2 separate regions of the Homo sapiens genome follow, and region 1 is linked to region 2. The links are contacts of gene promoters, found by promoter capture Hi-C in human tissues and cell types (Jung and others, 2019). All regions are on one chromosome and are shown on one strand. Each heading gives the region's core, a stretch centred on a gene start or on the middle of the fragment in contact. The rest is flanking DNA. Distances are from core to core; before and after follow the strand shown. Region 1 overlaps UBAP2 (ubiquitin associated protein 2). Region 2 holds the start of UBAP2 (ubiquitin associated protein 2).

Region 1 (4,510 bases), core at 492-2,991, 130 kb after region 2:
CCCTCCTCCACGAAGCTCCACTGTGCTTTGCCGTCTCTGTCTCCACACTTTGTTGTATCTGCCATACTTCCCCCAAGTCCTGGGCCAGGGGTGTCCAATGTTTTGGCTTCCTTGGGCCACATTGAAAGAATAATTGTCTTGGGCCACACATAAAATACACTAACATTAAAGATAGCTGATGAGCTTAAAAAAATTGCAAACAAATTTCATGTTTTAAGAAAGACGAATTTGTGTTGGGCCACATTCAAAGCTGTCATGGGCCGTGGGTTGGACAAGCTTGTCCTAGGCCATGTCAGTGTTTTGAGAGCAGTGTAGGTGGTGACAGGCCAGTTCTGGGCTTCACCTGGGGTCCTGCTTATTCCCGTGCCTACCTGGCACTGCCCCCTGTCCCCCCTTAAACCTTTCAGGCCCCTGCACTTCTGTTGCCTCCTTTTTCAGGTCTGCTCTGTTTAGTCAGCTTTCCTAGCTGCTCTAGTCTCTCACACAGAAAAGCCAGCGAAGTTGGTTCAGCCCGAGGCATTCACACAAGCACCTGCCTGTGGTGTCAAATGGATGTGTGAGGCTTGGTCTCCAGCAGCTCTGCCTGGTGAAGCTGCAGGGTTGGCCGGTCTGTGTGCTTATGTGTTAGGCAGGCCGCCTAGTTGCACACTCTTCCGAGGGGCACCATTTACTTGGCGTTCCCTGGGACTGCTGGCTCTCAGGCATGGAGTCTGTTTCAGGAGTGTGGCGTCACCACTTCCATGTGCTGGTTCTGCTCTCCTGGGAGTCAAGCAGGGCCAGTCGCTGATCAAGCCTCCCTGGTCTCTCCTAGGACTACTATGGAATTCCCTTTGCTGCACCCACAGCGCTTGCCAGCCGAGATGGGAGCCTAGCTAATAATCCATATCCAGGTGAGTTTGCTCAATGGATGAGGAGTAGCCCGGGGCCGGCCTAGCGCGAACTCCAGGAGCTGGGAAGCAGCAACAGCAAGCTGAGAGAGGCCTCTTAGTAGCCTGTGCTGAGCTGGCAGCCAGACCTGTTCCTGTTTGCAGAAGCCAGTGTGGCCTTTCTCTGGTTGGAGGAAGGGCAGTGGCTGGAGTCAGTGCTCTTTCCTAGGTGATGTCACAAAGTTTGGCCGTGGGGACTCTGCATCCCCTGCACCCGCTACCACACCAGCTCAGCCACAGCAGAGCCAATCACAGACCCACCACACAGCCCAGCAGCCCTTCGTGAATCCTGCACTGCCACCTGGCTATAGCTACACTGGTCTTCCCTACTACACAGGCATGCCCAGTGCCTTCCAGTATGGCCCCACCATGTTTGTGAGTATTTCAGAGGGTGTGACTGTGTCTCCTGGCCTTGGGTTGCTGGCAGGTGGAAACCTGGGACCTATCTTCCAGCAGGGAGGGAGGGTTGTGATTCCACTCCGTCTTACCTGGTCTTCAGAAACTGTTCAGGCTGGGGACAAGGTCACTTTTCCCCTGCTGTGTTTAGATCCAGCATGTGTTGCACTAATGAAAACACAGGTCCCCTGTGGTTGTGGGTATGTCACCTGCTGCCTTAGGCTCTGGCAGGGGTACCTGACCAGCCTCAGCTTGCCTCTTCCTACACTAATACCTCATCTGCTTGCCCCCCCAGGTCCCTCCAGCCTCAGCCAAGCAACATGGGGTGAACCTCAGCACTCCCACACCTCCCTTCCAGCAGGCCAGTGGTTATGGCCAGCACGGCTACAGTACAGGTGAGGGGTACTTCCCAGACAGAGACACATGGGGTTAGACAGGCTTGCCTGGCTCACACTTGCCTCTTGTACCCTGCCACGCTAGGTTATGACGACCTGACCCAGGGGACAGCAGCAGGAGACTACTCCAAAGGTGGCTATGCTGGATCATCGCAGGCACCAAACAAGTCTGCAGGTTCTGGGCCTGGCAAAGGTAGTGTTTACCTCTCCTTTCCAGGATAAGGCCTGGAGTGGTGGGCTCCTGCCTGATCCCCTCTCAGGCAGGGCAACCCCTGAGTGATCCTGGAGGTGGGGAGCCTGGAGCTGGGAACAACTGCTGTGGGGAACAACTGCTTTTCCTCCTAGGAGTATCAGTGTCTTCAAGCACCACTGGTCTACCTGATATGACTGGTTCTGTCTACAATAAGACACAGGTGAGGGACAAAGGTGGGTTGGGTGTATAGGTTTTTGAGAGGTTACAGCCCAACCTGACCTTCACCATTGTCTTCTTTGCCCTGTAGACTTTTGACAAGCAGGGATTTCATGCAGGGACGCCTCCACCTTTCAGCCTGCCCTCGGTCTTGGGCTCCACTGGGCCCCTGGCCTCGGGAGCGGCCCCTGGCTATGCACCCCCACCATTCCTACACATCTTGCCAGCCCACCAGCAGCCCCACTCACAGCTGCTGCACCACCACCTTCCGCAGGATGCACAGGTGAGTACAGTGATGGAGGCAGCCACCCTACTCTGGGCCAGGGGTTCTGCTCCAGCCTTGACAGCCTTCCCTTCTCCTCTTCCTCAGAGTGGCTCGGGTCAGCGCAGCCAGCCCAGCTCCCTGCAGCCCAAGTCTCAAGCCTCCAAACCTGCCTACGGCAACTCTCCATACTGGACAAACTAAACCCAGAAGAGAGGGGTGGGCTGGGGCAAGGCTTATCCTGGGCAGGAGAGAACACACGAGCACGTATTTGGGAGCCCAGTGCCCTTTCCTAGAATTCCCGACATGTGTCAGCCATGCCTCTGTGGGGAGTCTGCCTCCCAGACTGGCTACTGTATGTAATGTATTTATGTATGTATTTGTAAATGTGATAGAAGTCTGGGGGGGAGTTGGGGGATGGCGGCAGATGTTAGCCAGGTCTGCCCTCCCCATTCAAGCCCCTTCTCCACTGTAGCAAAATAAGCACCCCCACCCCATCTGCCTTCAGGTCTTCTTCACAGCCTGCACTGCCCAGTGGGCCACTAGGGGCAGTCTCTGGAAGGGCTGGTTCAAGGCTGTTTGGGTATAGGGGTCAGGTACCAATGAAGAATCACGACTTGTCTCACTCCTTTGGAAATTGTTTTCTTTCCTGTGTAATTACTTCATACCTCTGTTTTTGAGAAACTGTTCCGTTTGTCATCTGTCATGGTCTCCTTCCACCAAATCTTCATCTGGGAATAGCAGCGGTATCCCTCCACCCAAGTATGGCCACCTGTTTGTCTTCATATAGAACAGGGGCTTCTGGTCTGGTCATGTCCCTAGAGACTTACTAGAGACTGGCTGACCATGAAAAAAAAAAAAATAATCTGAGTTATTCAGCCAGTCAGCTCCCCTTTAAAAATCTAAGGTATCTCCAAGCAACACATCTCCATTCTAGTTGTCTTGAACCACGTGGGCAACTGTTTCAGGGGTTTTCTCTTGCCCAATCCCCACCTAATAAAGTTCTGAGAGCATGCATGGTCTCTGTGTGGTGTGACTGAAGGGCAGCTCAGGGCAGAAGCCCTGGACTTCACAGGGCTAAAGGAGATCCCACATGGTCATAGTCTTCTGACACAGGCTATAAAGGCTTGAAATGGTTTTCCTTTTTACTGGACCCTCTTGGCCCAAATCACAATGGCTGTAAGGACAGCTAAACCTCCTTACAGGGCCCAGGCCATGTTGATCAAAGTTAACCTGGCTTTTCTTATAGCTCCTTAAGAGACTTAGGGATAGGGCAGTGTCCCACAGAGCCCTGTCCACTGGATACCAGGGCAGGGTAATTTCTTTTCCAAATCTCAGTGGACTTTTACAATCTGAAGCAAAGCCAAGAACTGAGAGCAGGGTTCTAGGCCTTAAGGGAGAGTATGAACAGGTATACCTGTCTTTTGCTTGTCATCAACTGAACATAATCTTGATTGGCAGTCAAAAGCTATGGTAGAACACGTGACTAGTGAGGGTGTCATGAGGTAGGCTGGTGGATCCGGGGCTACATATCTGCTCCAGAAAAGCCCAACCAACCATTCACCTTGTGTCAGGTCAGAAGCCAGGGAGTAACCAAGGGCCATAGGAAGGAGGCAGATCTCCTGTTGGCCAACCACAACTGTGCTCCAATCCAGCAGGCAGGAAGCTCAGGGCCTAGAAGTGTTGCCCAAGGTGCTACAGCCTCTCTTTTCACTCCTAAATCGCTGCTTCAGATCAGGTTAAAGGAGGAAATAAAATGGCTAGTCAGGTGATTGATTGATTGATTGTGTCAGAACCAGCCTGGGGTCACAATCTACTTTTTCTGCTTTTGGCCTCTACAATTGAGAGCGATGGTCCTGTCATCAGATGGGACCGATACTCCTATTAACCCACAGCTTGGGACCTTACCTAGAAAAAAGGTAAGTGTCTACAGGTAAAATTAGGACTTTTATTAAATAGGGTGATCTGCCTGATCCCTGCTATTAGCAGCAGTAAGTTAGGAAAACAAATGACAGTGAAAATGTTTGCCTAAGGAAAGCAGCAGAGCACCCCTCAATCCTTCACTGACCTACTTGTATCAGCTCCCGTTTTCAGAATCAAGTTTAACAAATGGCTACGTCTA
Region 2 (4,188 bases), core at 1,342-3,841:
ACTCTGCCTCCCAGGCTGGAGTGCAGTGGCACAATTTTGGATCACGACAACCTCTGCCTCCTGGGTTCAAGTGATTCTCCTGCCTCAGCTTCCCAAGTAGCTGGGATTACAGGCGCCCGCCACCACGCCCGGCTAATTTTTTGTATTTTTTTAGTAAAGACAGGGTTTCACCATGTTGGCCAGGCTGGTCACAAACTCCTGACCTCAGGTGATCCACCCACCTTGGCCTCCCAAAGTGCTGGGATTACATGCGTGAGCCATCACGCCCGGCCCAGTTCTGTTTGTTAAAGGCACAGTTTAAGCATTCTTTGTTTTTTTTTTTGTTTGAGACAGAGTCTTGCTCTGTCGAACAGCCTGGAGTGCAGTGGTGCTATCTTGGCTCACTGCAACCTCCACCTCCTGTGTTCAAGTGATTCTCCTACCTCAGCCTCCTGAGTAGCTGGGATTACAGGCGTGTGCCACCACGCCAGGCTATTTTTTTTTTTTTTTTTTGAGACGGAGTCTTGCTCTGTCGCTCAGGCTGGAGTGCAGTGGCGCGATCTCGACCCACTGCAAACTCCGCACGCCATTCTCCTGCCTCAGCCTCCCGAGTAGCTGGGACTACAGGCGCCCGCCACCACGCCCGGCTAATTTTTTTGTATTTTTAGTAGAGACTGGGTTTCACCGTGTTAGCCAGGATGGTCTCGATCTCCTGACCTCGTGATCGGCCCGCCTTGGCCTCCCAAAGTGTTGGGATTACAGGCGTGAGCCACCGCGCCCGGACATTTTTTTGTATTTTTAACAGAGACGGGGTTTCACCGTGTTGGTCAGGCTGGTCTCAAACTCCGTATCTTGTGATCCGCCCTCCTCCGGCTCCCAAAGTGCTGAGATTACAGGTGTGAGCCACCACGCCCGGCAGCATTCTTTAATTCAGATGAATAACAAAGGCTTTATTTGAACTAGATAGGGCTGTTTAAGATGTCAATTGTTTTACTTAATAACTAGCAAATTAGTAATTAGCATAGTGCCCTGTACAAAGTTCAGTATAAGCTAATTTCCCCTTTCTACCTTACTTAGACCTTTTGGGCCCGATGGGTAGAGTGTGAAAATGATTACTGATACTTACTGAGGGTTTATTATGTGTCAAGCAGGCATTTTACATAATCTCATTTAATTTTCACAAGCCGGTGAAGTGTTATTACAGAGGAAAGCTCCAATTGAGATAAGGCATGCCGGGACTGCAAAGTCCTTGTATGTAACTAGCTTGGGATAAAACAGGCCAGTAAGTAGACCTTGAGAGCTTGTTTAGAGGACCTTGAGAGCTTGTTAACACGGGCGTGCAGCTACTCCTATATCCTTGACTTGTCCTCTTCTATGGGGGATGCTCCTCCTTTTCGACCGAATATGCAGCTTCGGGAGGGACGCACATGGAGAGGTGCGGGAGGAAGGGGCCACCCGCCTAGACAGCCAGATCAGCCGAATCAGCCCTGGCGATCTATGGGGTGACAAGATAGCCAGAACGCCCTCACATCCAAACAGGCCAGTAAATGGAAAATACTTTAAAACACCATGCTACAATTATAAACCATCATCTTATTTATTCGTAATTCTTGGAGTTGACAACAGGTCAGATCCTATTGAGAGGAGGTCATTAATTTTCTAAAGACAGAAAACCTGGGTCTCTTCGGTCAACAAACAACTCTAAGGTTCTTTTTTTAAATCCTTAAATAGGGAAAATCCTGGACTCAAGGAGTTGATTATATGATATAACAGAAATAAACGGCTGACTTGGAGTAGGCGTTCAGTAGATTCTAGTCTTTTCACCCAGAAGGGGCTTGGGAGGGCAAAAGTAAAACCGCACTGAAAAAGACTAAAAGTGGGCGCACCTTCCGCCTTGCCGAGGCTCTCGCTGCTAGCCGTTGGCGTTTTCCCGCGCAGGGGGCAGGGCGCAGAGCGAGCCCAGGAACGTGGGAGCGGAACCCCACCCCCCGCCAGGACTACACCTCCCAGCAGGCACCACGCTCCGCCACATGGCGGGCGGCATCCAATGGTATTAGTCCTTCAAGCCAGCTTAGTCCGCTTTCCGTCCCGGCCTTCCCTCGGCTCTAAGGTCTCTAGGGGGTTCGTCTAGAAGCCCGCTGGAGAAAGGCTGCGGTAGGGGTCGCCTTGGCTGTGCAGCATGTTGGGAGTCGTGGTCCCCTCGTGCAACATTTGGGAGGCCAGGCTTGCCCTGAGTGGTTGGACCACATCACGTGATGAGCACAGGGCGGCCACAGGGGAGTAACCTGTGGTGCTTTGTGAGGTCATCACGGCGCGACGACGAGCTGCAGTTGTGGGCACCTTGTATGCGGTGGGTAATACTCTCCTGATGACTCCGAGTACAATACATATTATCAAGTCTCCCTTATTTGTTCCTTTCTGTGGTCCCCACCTCCACGCGGTTGGCTTCGCGGGGTTGGGGTGGAGGTGGTGGCTGGAAGAGGCCGCGCGCCGCCTAGGCTGACTCTGAAGCCGCGCACGAGCGACGTGTTGTGGCTCCTCCTTCGCCCGTGACGCGAGGTCACGTGACGGGTTGGGCAGCCTGTGCCGCCGCCGCCGCTTTGTAAGAGGCACATTGGCAGGTAACGAGCGGCGGCGGCGGCAGCGGGTCTTGGGTCCTCCGAGAGCAGCAGCGGTAATTGCCATCCTCTCCCTCTCCTTCCCTCTTCCAGGGCCCTGAGCGCTGCAGCGTGTGCTTTCTAATTCTGGGTTCAGCTCGTCTGAAACCCCACCGCCTGCAGACTGCCCCGGCGCCCACCCGTGAGGACCGGGCCGAGCTTCACTCGCCAGGTCCACGGTCCCTCTACGTCCAGGCCCGGGCTCCCTCCTTCCTCTTCCCCTCACGTTGCCCTGTGCTTCTTCCTACTTTCCCCCGTCCAGGTCGGCTGGGCCCCACCCAGCCCCAGGGGTGCCTCCCCTCCCCCCTTTCGGGTTTCTGCCCTGGAGGGTGTGGTTTTCTCTCCCACCTCGGTGCCTGCCAGTAGACTGGAGCTTCCCCGCCACGCTGTCGGTCCCATCTCATCACCTTTCCGCTTTCACGCCCGTAGCTAGTCTTGGGACTGGCCCTGTTATAGCCCCAACTTATGCGCTCTCTAACCTTTCCTGGCTTACCCGGAGTCACAGTTCAGTTCTACTTCTTTTCAATTCTGTAGGGCATTGGTCTCAATTGGGACTCAGTTTTCCTCCACACCCGCCGTTCCTGTAGTCTGGTTATATCACAGTTCATTATTTAATGTAGGTTTTTGAGCGCTTTGTAAACGGCAAAGCTCTCTCTGTTAATAATACATACTCAAAATGTTATTCTTTCATTGGTGCATTACAACTCAGTTGTTTGCCTCTGAATCACTTTCCCACTCGGCTTTTCCACATTTTCCCCTGAGTTTTTAGTCTAATTAGTTGCCCACGCATCTCAACTGTCACCACTCTGGTCTCTAATGCTTGCTCGCTTTAGGGGTTGATCCCATCATTATTACTGTTATTTCCTGTTTGATGTAATCCAGTCATTTACTACCACTTCTATTGGATATTGTTTTTACCTCACATTCAAGGAAGGTATATGGTTTGCCAGTATTTAGGCTTATTGTCTTTCTACAGCACCAGTGTATCCTAACAGTTGAGAGATTTTAAAAAATTACTATTAATTTTAGAGATATGGTCTCCATATGTTGCCCAGGCTGGCCTCCAGCTCCTGGGTTTAAGCGATTCTTTCACCTCAGCCTCCTGAGTATCTGGGATTACAGTGTGCACCACGGTGCTCAGCTAGTTGAGGGTTTTTTCAGGTCTCCATAAGGTATCCAAAGATTATCTTTTATTTGAAGGGCATATAATTTCTTGGGTGAACCCAGTTCTTATATTCCTCTTCCGTTGTGACAGCACTTTTTTCAACAAGGGGTATGCGACTAGTTATTGCATTCCTCACTTTTCACTGTGAATTGTGTATCCGTTTTAGTGCCAGTTTGTGAAAGGTGGAAGGAAGTTGAACATGATACCTAAGCTCTCCCGTATCCTACATTGGTGTGTTCCCCTTTTACCTCAGGAAAGGGAATGTATTCCACTCCCTGGAGATGATAGTTTCCTTCAATACACTCACCTGTGGAGCCCCTTCGCTAGGGTTGTCCTTCCATTGCTTTGAAGGCTTCTCTTATCATTAGGCAGAAGTGATTAGTTTCC

The links. Contacts are between HindIII fragments. The study calls those that stand out against the background at their distance.
Region 1: a fragment that was not itself captured here is called in contact with the fragment with the promoter of UBAP2 in region 2 in 2 of the 25 tissues and cell types used here (lymphoblastoid cells and spleen).

Annotation. Positions count from the first base shown.
Region 1 is chr9:33,920,586-33,925,095 of GRCh38, reverse strand. It overlaps UBAP2 (ubiquitin associated protein 2), which reads left to right. Exons shown (of 29, transcript NM_001370062.2): 23 at 812-890; 24 at 1,096-1,301; 25 at 1,618-1,717; 26 at 1,803-1,910; 27 at 2,063-2,130; 28 at 2,218-2,409; 29 at 2,497-3,403. The coding sequence ends at 2,592. Among named protein-coding and RNA genes, the nearest start is that of SNORD121B, 12 kb to the left of the region's middle. The HindIII fragment of the contact is 6,345 bases long and covers 1-4,510 here.
Region 2 is chr9:34,047,290-34,051,477 of GRCh38, reverse strand. UBAP2 (ubiquitin associated protein 2) reads left to right here and starts at 2,591. Exons shown (of 29, transcript NM_001370062.2): 1 at 2,591-2,653. It also overlaps the pseudogene RN7SKP114. RefSeq lists enhancers at 57-911, 912-1,768, 1,959-2,488, 1,769-2,624, 2,625-3,481 and silencers at 2,519-2,608, 2,759-2,808. The HindIII fragment of the contact is 41,306 bases long and covers 1-4,188 here.